Regions from separate parts of the Homo sapiens genome. Here region 2 is linked to region 1. The links are contacts of gene promoters, found by promoter capture Hi-C in human tissues and cell types (Jung and others, 2019). All regions are on one chromosome and are shown on one strand. The core of a region is centred on a gene start or on the middle of the fragment in contact, and the rest is flanking DNA. Distances in the headings are between cores, read along the strand shown.

Region 1 (4,536 bases), core at 162-2,661:
TTATAGATATAGACTTGGAGGGTTGGCTATTTTCTAGCTGCAGAGTCTTGAGCAAGTTATTTAATGCTCCCTGTCTCCTTATATGTAAAATAGAGGTGATAAAATTTCCTATTTGTAGGGATATTTGTGAGGATTAAAGTTTGCAAAGCAATGTTTACATAGATCCTGGAGCACGGTCAGCTCTCAATAATTGGTAGCCCTTATTATGGCTATTGCAATTATTATTTTATTACTATAATTCTCTTTCTCAAAGGGAAGGCCGGGAAAGTGGGGCTCCAGTAGGTTGAAGATGACAGTCCCTCCCCTAGCTGAGGCAGCTGGAAGAGGTGGGAACCACTTCCTCCCACTCCCCTCTTCTTCCCCTGAGGCAGGGGTCTTCCCCTAGCTACTGACAGTTCCTGTGTCTGCTGACTCACAGCCAACTTCCTCTCATACAAACAGGAAAACACAGCCGGCCAGCGCCCCCGCCACCCCCAACACATACACACACACACACACACACACACACACACACACACACACACACACACACACAAACACCCCCCCCCCACACCCAAACACTGGTCCTGCTCAGAGAGGGAAGTGCCTCCGCCCCTGGGAGACAGGCTCCAGGACCGGGGTTCCGGCAAGATTAGCGAAGGAGAGAAGGGCCATTCCTCTTCAGGCCTCCCCGGCATCCCCCCTGAAATTTTAGGGTGGGAGTTGGGGAGAAGGGGCGGCTTCTCCCATGAATGAAACAGCTGCTTGCTTGGTCACTGAGCTTGCAGGGCGTCCGCCTGTCCCAAAAAGGCAGCCCCAAACCTTGGTTTGGAAGTAGGGATGTGCCTTGCGGACCTTCATCCCTCGAAGGAACCTAGGCCGGGCCCTTGGGGATGGAAGTGGGGAGAAACAGACGGGTACCCCTCTGCTGGGCCTCTGCGCTTGTTGCCCAGGCCAAGTCTCAATTCTGGATGTCCAGCTTCCGTCCCCACACTAAACTGGTTGCCAGGGTCCAGCCACCCTTCCGGGCGTGGGAGAGGTGCCCTGGGGGATTAGGGCTCGACCTTTCCTCCTCCCTTTTGGCAGGACTGGAGGGCATGGGAGCAGCGGAGAGGATGCAAAGCCGTCCCTGGCACTCTCCCTTTCTCAGTTTCTACCTCCGTCCCAGTCTCCGTCCCGGTCTCTGCCTCTTTGTCCCTCTCCCTGAGGTTGTCTTCGTCCCAACGTGTTCTGGTCCTTTCTCGGCCTGCGAGAGGGCAGACTGGGGGCAGACTCGGAGATAAGCGCGGCGGTTGGGCAAGAAGCCCAAACCCTTTGGAGGCCTGCGCTTGCACAAGGAGTGGCCGGGGCCCCGCGGAGGGAACCGGCCGGGCGGGGCGGGGCTGGGCCCGTCGAGGGAGGGCAGAGGGGAGGCGGGGCCGGCGCGGCGGGACCCAGAACCTCGGACGAGCGGCGGGCACCCGCGAGCGGACGGCGGCCGCGTAGTGAGGTGAGGACCCCCGCGCCCCCCGGGTCCCTGCTTCCCAGACTCCTCCCCATCACCTTCTCGAGGGCCTTCGTGGGCTCCCAGGCCCCCTCGGCGCCGGCGGCCCTCCCCATCCCTGCCACGACCCGCCCCTCCCTCCTGCTGCCCGGCCTCTGCCCCATCCCTCCTCGCCCCCTCCCTCGTCGCAGCCTGCGCTGCCCGCCACTGCCCGCCCCGCCCCCGCCACTCCTGTCCCGCGAGCACCTCAGCTCCCAGCCCCGTGCTGTCGAGCCCGGCCTGAGTCACCGGGAAACCGGGCCCTGAGTCAGGGCCCGAGGCTCAGCACGCGGGCCCTGGCTTGGGAATGAGGCCCAGCTGGAGAGAGGCAGAGGGAGGCCAGCAGTGATGCTGGGACGGAGAGGGCGTCCTGGTCACCGACAGAGCACAAGAGTAACAGGGAGAGAGCCTAGGCCGAGGCGGAAGACAGAAACCCAGGCTCAGAGGCAGACAGAGACACAGATACAACTCAAGATCTGGTTAGAATTGTAGACTGAGTCAAGGACAAGCTTAATAACAGAGAGCAAAACAGGGTGGGACAAGGAGAGGGACAAAGAAGAATTGAGAGGTTGAGATGGAATGGGGCAGGGACAGTGACAAGGCAGAGATAAAACTCAGGGGCCACAGAATTAGAGACAGGTCTATGAAATAGACCAGGGTCAGGGTCGGGGTCAGGCTGGTGGAAGGGGGACAGAGCACAGAGACCTGAGCCCAAGGGAATGAGCAGGGAAAAGGCAAGCTCAGAAAAGGAAGGCTTGGAGAAAGCAGAGGTGGGGGGATGGCATTTCACACTGCCAAATCGCTACAGGGCATGTGCACACACAGGTGAACAGCATGTGAACATGCTGCCGGTGGGCAGAGAGTCCAGAAGCCTCTGGAGTACCCCTGACCAGAGGTCAGGCCTCATCTCTCTGGCATCCCCATCCTTATTCTTCAATTAGCCTCCACCCAGGGCCGGGACCCCACACATTAGGACTGGTTAGGGCTCTCCCGGCAGCCTGACCAAAGCAGGCAGGATGTGGAGGCGGCCAGGGCTGGAGGGACAGGAAGGAAGTCTGAGCAGAGACAATAGGTGGAAGGGGAGGAGGGACTGGGAACAACCAGGATTAGGACGGCAGGCCTGCATACATCGGCTCTGGAAACAAGAGGGAGGGGGCGTCTGCACCTCCTTCCTCCTATCTAGGCTGCCCCTCTCCCTACCTTACTCCAGAGCTGATTGGCCACATCATTGGCCCCTCCTCTGCATCTCCCTATCCCACTCTGACCCACAGCATTCTAGCATCTTGTCCCATGCTTACTCAGTTGGATGTGCAGTCAGGCAGGAGCAGAGCTTTGACCCAGACCCAGGGTGGGCAGGAACTGAGGGGCCAACTCTAGCACTGACTTACTGTGAACCTGGGGCAAGCCCCTTCCCCTCTCTGGGCCTCAGTTTCCTTAACTTCAAATGAAGTCCCTTCCCTAAGTAGAGAGCCATTGCTGTTGTTCTGGGATGGCTCTGCTTCCAGATCGCAGGCCTTTCAGCATCTTTCTTTGGAGGAAGATTGGAGGCTGGTGCTCACTGTCCAGGCCTCAGACTCTGGGGCAGAGAGGGGGATTCTCAGCCTGAGCCCTCCCTTCACCCTGCCCCTCCCCCCAGCAATGGCCTGAGCCCCCATGGCTGCCCCTCAGGACCTGGACATCGCTGTGTGGCTGGCCACGGTGCACCTGGAGCAGTATGCAGACACGTTCCGACGGCATGGCCTGGCTACAGCAGGTGCAGCCCGGGGCCTGGGCCACGAGGAGTTGAAGCAGTTGGGCATCAGCGCCACAGGGCACCGGAAACGCATTCTACGCCTGCTACAGACAGGCACCGAAGAGGGCTCCCTGGATCCCAAATCAGATAGTGCCATGGAACCATCCCCCAGCCCAGCCCCGCAAGCCCAGCCCCCTAAGCCCGTGCCGAAGCCCAGGACCGTGTTTGGTGGACTCAGTGGCCCTGCCACCACTCAGAGACCTGGGCTGAGCCCAGCCCTCGGGGGACCAGGAGTGTCCAGGAGCCCAGAGCCCAGCCCAAGGCCTCCTCCTCTCCCCACTTCCTCCTCTGAGCAGTCTTCAGCCCTAAATACTGTGGAGATGATGCCTAATTCCATCTACTTCGGCCTGGACTCAAGAGGCAGGGCACAGGCAGCTCAGGACAAGTGAGTGGAGTTGGCTCCCTAGGGACTGATGCTGGGAGGAGTGGGGAGGAGAGCATGAGGGGGACGGAGGCGGGGAGCAGGGCATGAAGGCTTGTTCTTCCTCCTCTCTCCTTAAGTAACCAATAGACCTTTCCCTTCAGGGCCCCAGACAGCTCCCAAATCTCTGCCCCCACCCCTGCCCTCAGGCCCACAACAGGCACAGGTAACTGGGTTATCACGGGTTGGGGGAGAGGGATAGTGCCGGCAGGACCTCATACACTCCCAGCGATCTCCTCTTCCTTGTGCGTTCCCCTCTCCTCCTGCCAGTGCACATCATGGATCCTGGTTGCCTGTACTATGGTGTCCAACCTGTGGGGACTCCAGGAGCCCCCGACAGAAGAGAGAGCAGAGGTGTTTGTCAGGGCAGGGCTGAACACAGGTGAGTACTAAATAGGGAAGTGGTGGGAGGGAGGAGCAGGTGAGTCGGTGGCGGCCATGTATCCAGTTATTCAACAAATGTGCATTGAGTATTCACCAGCCAGGCACTCAAGATACAGGATGAGTATCACAGACCTAGTGCCACCCTCAGGCAGCTTGTGACTCAGTGGGACAGACAGGGAATAAAACAAGTAGACAAACCAATGGTCATATAATGGAAAATTGGGAGAAGTGCTTTTCTTTCTTTCTTTCTTTTTGAGACGGAGTCTTGCCTTGTTGCCCAGATTGGAGTGCAGTGGCACAATCTCGGCTCACTGCAACCTCCCCCTCCTGGGTTCAAGCGATTCTCCTGTCTCAGGCTCCCGAGTAGCTGGGATTACAGGTGCGTGCCACCATGCCCGGCTAATTTTTATATTTTTAGTAGAGATGGGGTTTCGCCAT
Region 2 (4,229 bases), core at 782-3,281, 400 kb before region 1:
ATCCTGGACCACATGCCCCAGACTTCTTGTTACATGATGAAATTAACTCTTAGTGGGTTAAGCCACTGTTGTCAGGATTTGGTTACACGCAGCCAAATGCAGTCTTGAGTGAATAGCCTACCTTAAAAGGTTGCTGTGAGGATTCGTTTGAGATAATGTTTGTGAAACACTTAGCCCAGTACCTGGAACACAGGCATAGCCTAATAAATATTTGCTGATGAGTTGCAGTTTTCTTCCTTATAAAAAAGAATTAAGTGCTGGACATGGCGGCTCACGCCTATAATCCCAGCACTTTGCGGGGGTGAGGTGGGCGGATCACTTGAGGTCAGGAGTTCAAGACCAGCCTGGCCAACATGGTGAAACCCCATCTCTACTAAAAATACAAAAATTAGCCAGGCGTGGTGGCACGTGCCTGTAATCCCAGCTACTAGGGAGTCTGAGGCAGGAGAATTGCTGGAACCCGGGAGGCAGAGGTTGCAGTGAGGCGAGATCATGCCACTGCACTCTAGCCTGGGTGACAGAGCAAGACTCTGTCTCAAAAAAAAAAAAAAAAAAAAAAAAGGAATTGAGCCAAGCGCAGTGGCTCATGCCTGTAATACCATCACTTTGGGAGGCCAAGGTGGGTGGATCATCTGAGGTCAGGAGTTCAAGACCAGCCTGGCCAACATGGTGAAACCCCGTCTCTACTAAAAATACAAAATCAGCTGGGCGTGGTGGCGTATGCCTGTAATCCCAGCTACTCGGGAGGCTGAGGCAGGAGAATAGCTTGAACCCAGGAGGAAGAGGTTGCAGTGAGTCAAGATCAAGCCGTTGCACTCCAGCCTGGGCAACAAGAGTGAAACTCCATCTCAAAAAAAAAAAAAAAAAAAAAAAAAGGAATTGAAAATCTGATCCAGAGTATAGACAATAATAGAAACTTGGGAACTTTATTTGTTAAGGTGTTAGAATAATGCCCAGCACACAAACACTTTATAAATATTTGTAAATATAATTCTAACAGATGTTTATTGAATGCCTCTTATGTGCCAGGCACTGTTCTAGATGCTGGGGCTACAGCAGCGAGCAAGACAGTATTCCTGCTCTTATGGTACTTTCATTTTAGAAAAAGTAGGAGGTGGCATATGTAAGAAAATAAAGGTCAAGAAGTTGTCAAGAAAACAAGATGATGTGAAGGAACTCCTTGGGTGAGTTATAGAGAGAATGCCTTCTGAAGGTGGTGACATTTGAGAACTACAAAACCCTTGGCACAAATGACTCCATCCAATACCATTGACCACCCTCCCAACCTTGCTGCACTAAGAGACTTGACTAAACTCTAGCATGACTTCTGGCCCCAGCCCCACTTTAAGTGCCTGCTTGAGAAAGCTCAACACTGCCAAAAAAATGTACTGTTCCCACCAAGACCTGACAATAGGTTCCTGATTTCTTTACTCTTAGAGCCTTTACTTTAGAAAGCTTGCCATTATGAATCCTTTCCCTGCCCCTTTAAGATGTAAATATGTTACCATTCAGAAAAGTTTCCTCAAGGACATAGGAGCCATCTCTTTGAAAGGCAGACATCCAGGGAGGTAGTACTTCTGTCTCCCAGTTCCTTTGGGAGAGTAAGAGCCTAACTTCTGTGGGTGCCTTGCTCCAATTTACAAAACTACCTCCTGCCCTAATGATAGGAGCAGTTTGTTTCTCCTCCACAGAAGTTCCAGTTAACAAACCCAGATAGCCCAATCAGGTAGACTAAAGCCCCCTTAATGTCCTTTAGTATCTTTCCTTTAGCACACTCCGGGATTTAAAAGGCTTTCAAGCTTTTGTTTTGGTGGAGTTGAGCTGCCTTTACACTGAAGTCTCTCTCCCTTGTGGCAGTAGTACTGAATAAATTTTTTTTGTCTTACCACCTGTAACAAGTGGCTCTGTTACTCTTTGACACATTGAAAGTAAGACCTGATTTGTAAGAAGGAGCCAACTCCTGAAAAGTCTGGAGGCAGAACATTGCAGGCAGAGGGAGGCTCGTCAAAGGACCTAAAGAAGTTATAAATTTGGAGTTATGGAGGAATAGTCTTTCTGAAATTACCAAAAGTTTGTATCTGCAACCACAGAGAGGAATGGGTATACAGGGAAAATTCACATTTTGTGGAGCCTGAGGTTTATACAATTTGGATAACCCTCTTTAAGAAAAAGAATGCAGCCGGGCGTGGTGGCTCATGCCAGTAATCCCAGCACTTTGGGAGGTCGAGGCAGGAGGATCACTTGAGGTCAGGAGTTCCAGACAAGCCTGACCAACATGGTGAGACCCCGTCTCTACTAAAAATACAAAAATTAGCCGGGCGTGGTGGCATGTGCCTGTAATCCCAGCTACTCAGGAGGCTGAGGCAGGAGAATCTCTTGAACCCGGGAGGCGGAGGTTGCAGTGAGCCCAGATGGCACCACTGCACTCCAGCCTGGGTGACACAGTGAGACCCCAACTCAAAAAAAAAAAAAAAGAAAAAAGAAAGAAAAAGAAAAAGAAGGAAAAGAAAAAACAGAAAAAGCATACAAAATTCCAAATACAAAATGGAGCTTTGGAAGGGACCTTTGCAAGTGAATGGCCCCGAAGCTTAAGCTTCAGCTTTATGAACTTCCTAGAAAATCTATTTAGACCTGATCTGATGACAAAAACTAGATTTGAAGTATGAATTATTCAGAATTATTCAGACTCTTTTAGCAGTGAGAAACCCATTTGTGCTAGATTAAGTGAAAAAAAGTGGACATGTATAGTAGCAATCCAGGGTATCTCACAGGACAAAGCATGATAATTTAGCTGGGGCAAATATATGTTGCAACCAGAGACTCAAACACCAGCAGCACTCCCCATCTTTCACCTGTACCTCTCTAAACCTACACATGTGCTTTGTCTCTATCTTATCTTTGCAGATAACCTCCATCTGCTTTCCTGACCCATAGGATAGAAAATCATGGCCGTCTAGAGCAGCAGTCCCCAACCATTTTGGCACCAGGGACTGGTTTCATGGAAGACAATTTCCGTGGACAGGGGATGGAGGGATGCTTTTGGGATGAAACTGTTCCACCTCAGATCATCAGGCATTAGTTAGATTTTCATAAGTGGTGCTGAGTGCATACCCTAGATCCCTCACATGCACAGTTCACAATAGAGTTCCTGCTCCTATGAGAATCTAATGTCACTGCTGATCTGAGAGCAGGCGGAGCTCAGGCAGTAATGCTTGCTCACCTGCTACTCACCTCCTGCTATGCAGCCCAGTTCCTAATAGGCCATGGACTGGTACAGGTCCACGACCCAGGGGTTGGGGACCCCTGGTCTAGATCACTTCACTTTACGTGTTACGGCTCCAACTGCCATGTTACGACTTCCAGCATTCTCACGGAAGCACTCTGACAGGTTTGAGTCACATTTCATCCTCTGGTCAAAAACCAGCACCTAGGAGACCACTCAACCCTGGAATCAAGACAAAAGCAGTCATCTGAAAAAGAGGAATCACTGTGTGCCAAGAAGCAAACTCAAGCGGTGTCTGCCTCACCTGTTAACGTCTGACTGTAGAACAGCTCTGCCCAAAAGAAATATAATGCAAGCCACAAATGTAGGTCACACATCATTTTCAATTTTCTAGCAGACACATTAAAGAAGTACAAAGAAACATATGAGATAAATTTTAGTAATATATTTTATTTAGTCAATATTATAACTTTAACATGTACTCAATAAAAAATTAGGTATGTTATGTTCTTTTTTTTTTTTTTGAGACGGAGTCTTGCTCTGTCACCAGGCTGGAGTGCAGTGGCACAATCTCGGCTCACTGCAACCCCCACCTCCCAGGTTCAGTGATTCTCCTGCCTCAGCCTTCCTAGTAGCTGGGATTACATGTACGAGCCACCATGCCCAGCTAAATTTTTGTTGTTTTAGTAGAGATGGGGTTTCACCATATTGGCCAGGCTGGTCTCAAACTCCTAACCTCAAGTGATCTGCCCACCTTGGCCTCCCAAAGTGCTGGGATTACAGGCGTGAGCCACCGTGCCCAGCCTGCTATGTTCTTTTTTACATACTGTCTTCAAAATCCAGTGTGTGTTTTACACTTACAGCACATCTCAATTTGGGCTAATCACATTTCAAGTGCTCAGTAGCCACAGATGGCAGGTGGCTACCACAGTGGACATGCAGGTTTTCATTTCTTGGCTGAGATCTGGTTGATGCTACCACCCCTGTACATCACAGCAGGCCCAAG

Evidence for each region. The method cuts DNA at HindIII sites, captures the fragments that hold promoters and counts their contacts. A contact is called where the count stands out against the background at its distance.
Region 2: a fragment that was not itself captured here is called in contact with the fragment with the promoter of ARAP3 in region 1 in 1 of the 25 tissues and cell types used here (spleen).

The regions. Positions count from the first base shown.
Region 1 is chr5:141,679,105-141,683,640 of GRCh38, reverse strand. It overlaps ARAP3 (ArfGAP with RhoGAP domain, ankyrin repeat and PH domain 3), which reads left to right and starts at 1,411. Exons shown (of 33, transcript NM_022481.6): 1 at 1,411-1,468; 2 at 3,138-3,678; 3 at 3,819-3,880; 4 at 3,985-4,096. The coding sequence starts at 3,155. RefSeq lists a silencer at 1,362-1,411. The HindIII fragment of the contact is 12,570 bases long and covers 1-4,536 here.
Region 2 is chr5:142,079,646-142,083,874 of GRCh38, reverse strand. No RefSeq gene overlaps it. Among named protein-coding and RNA genes, the nearest start is that of NDFIP1, 27 kb to the left of the region's middle. The HindIII fragment of the contact is 5,041 bases long and covers 1-4,229 here.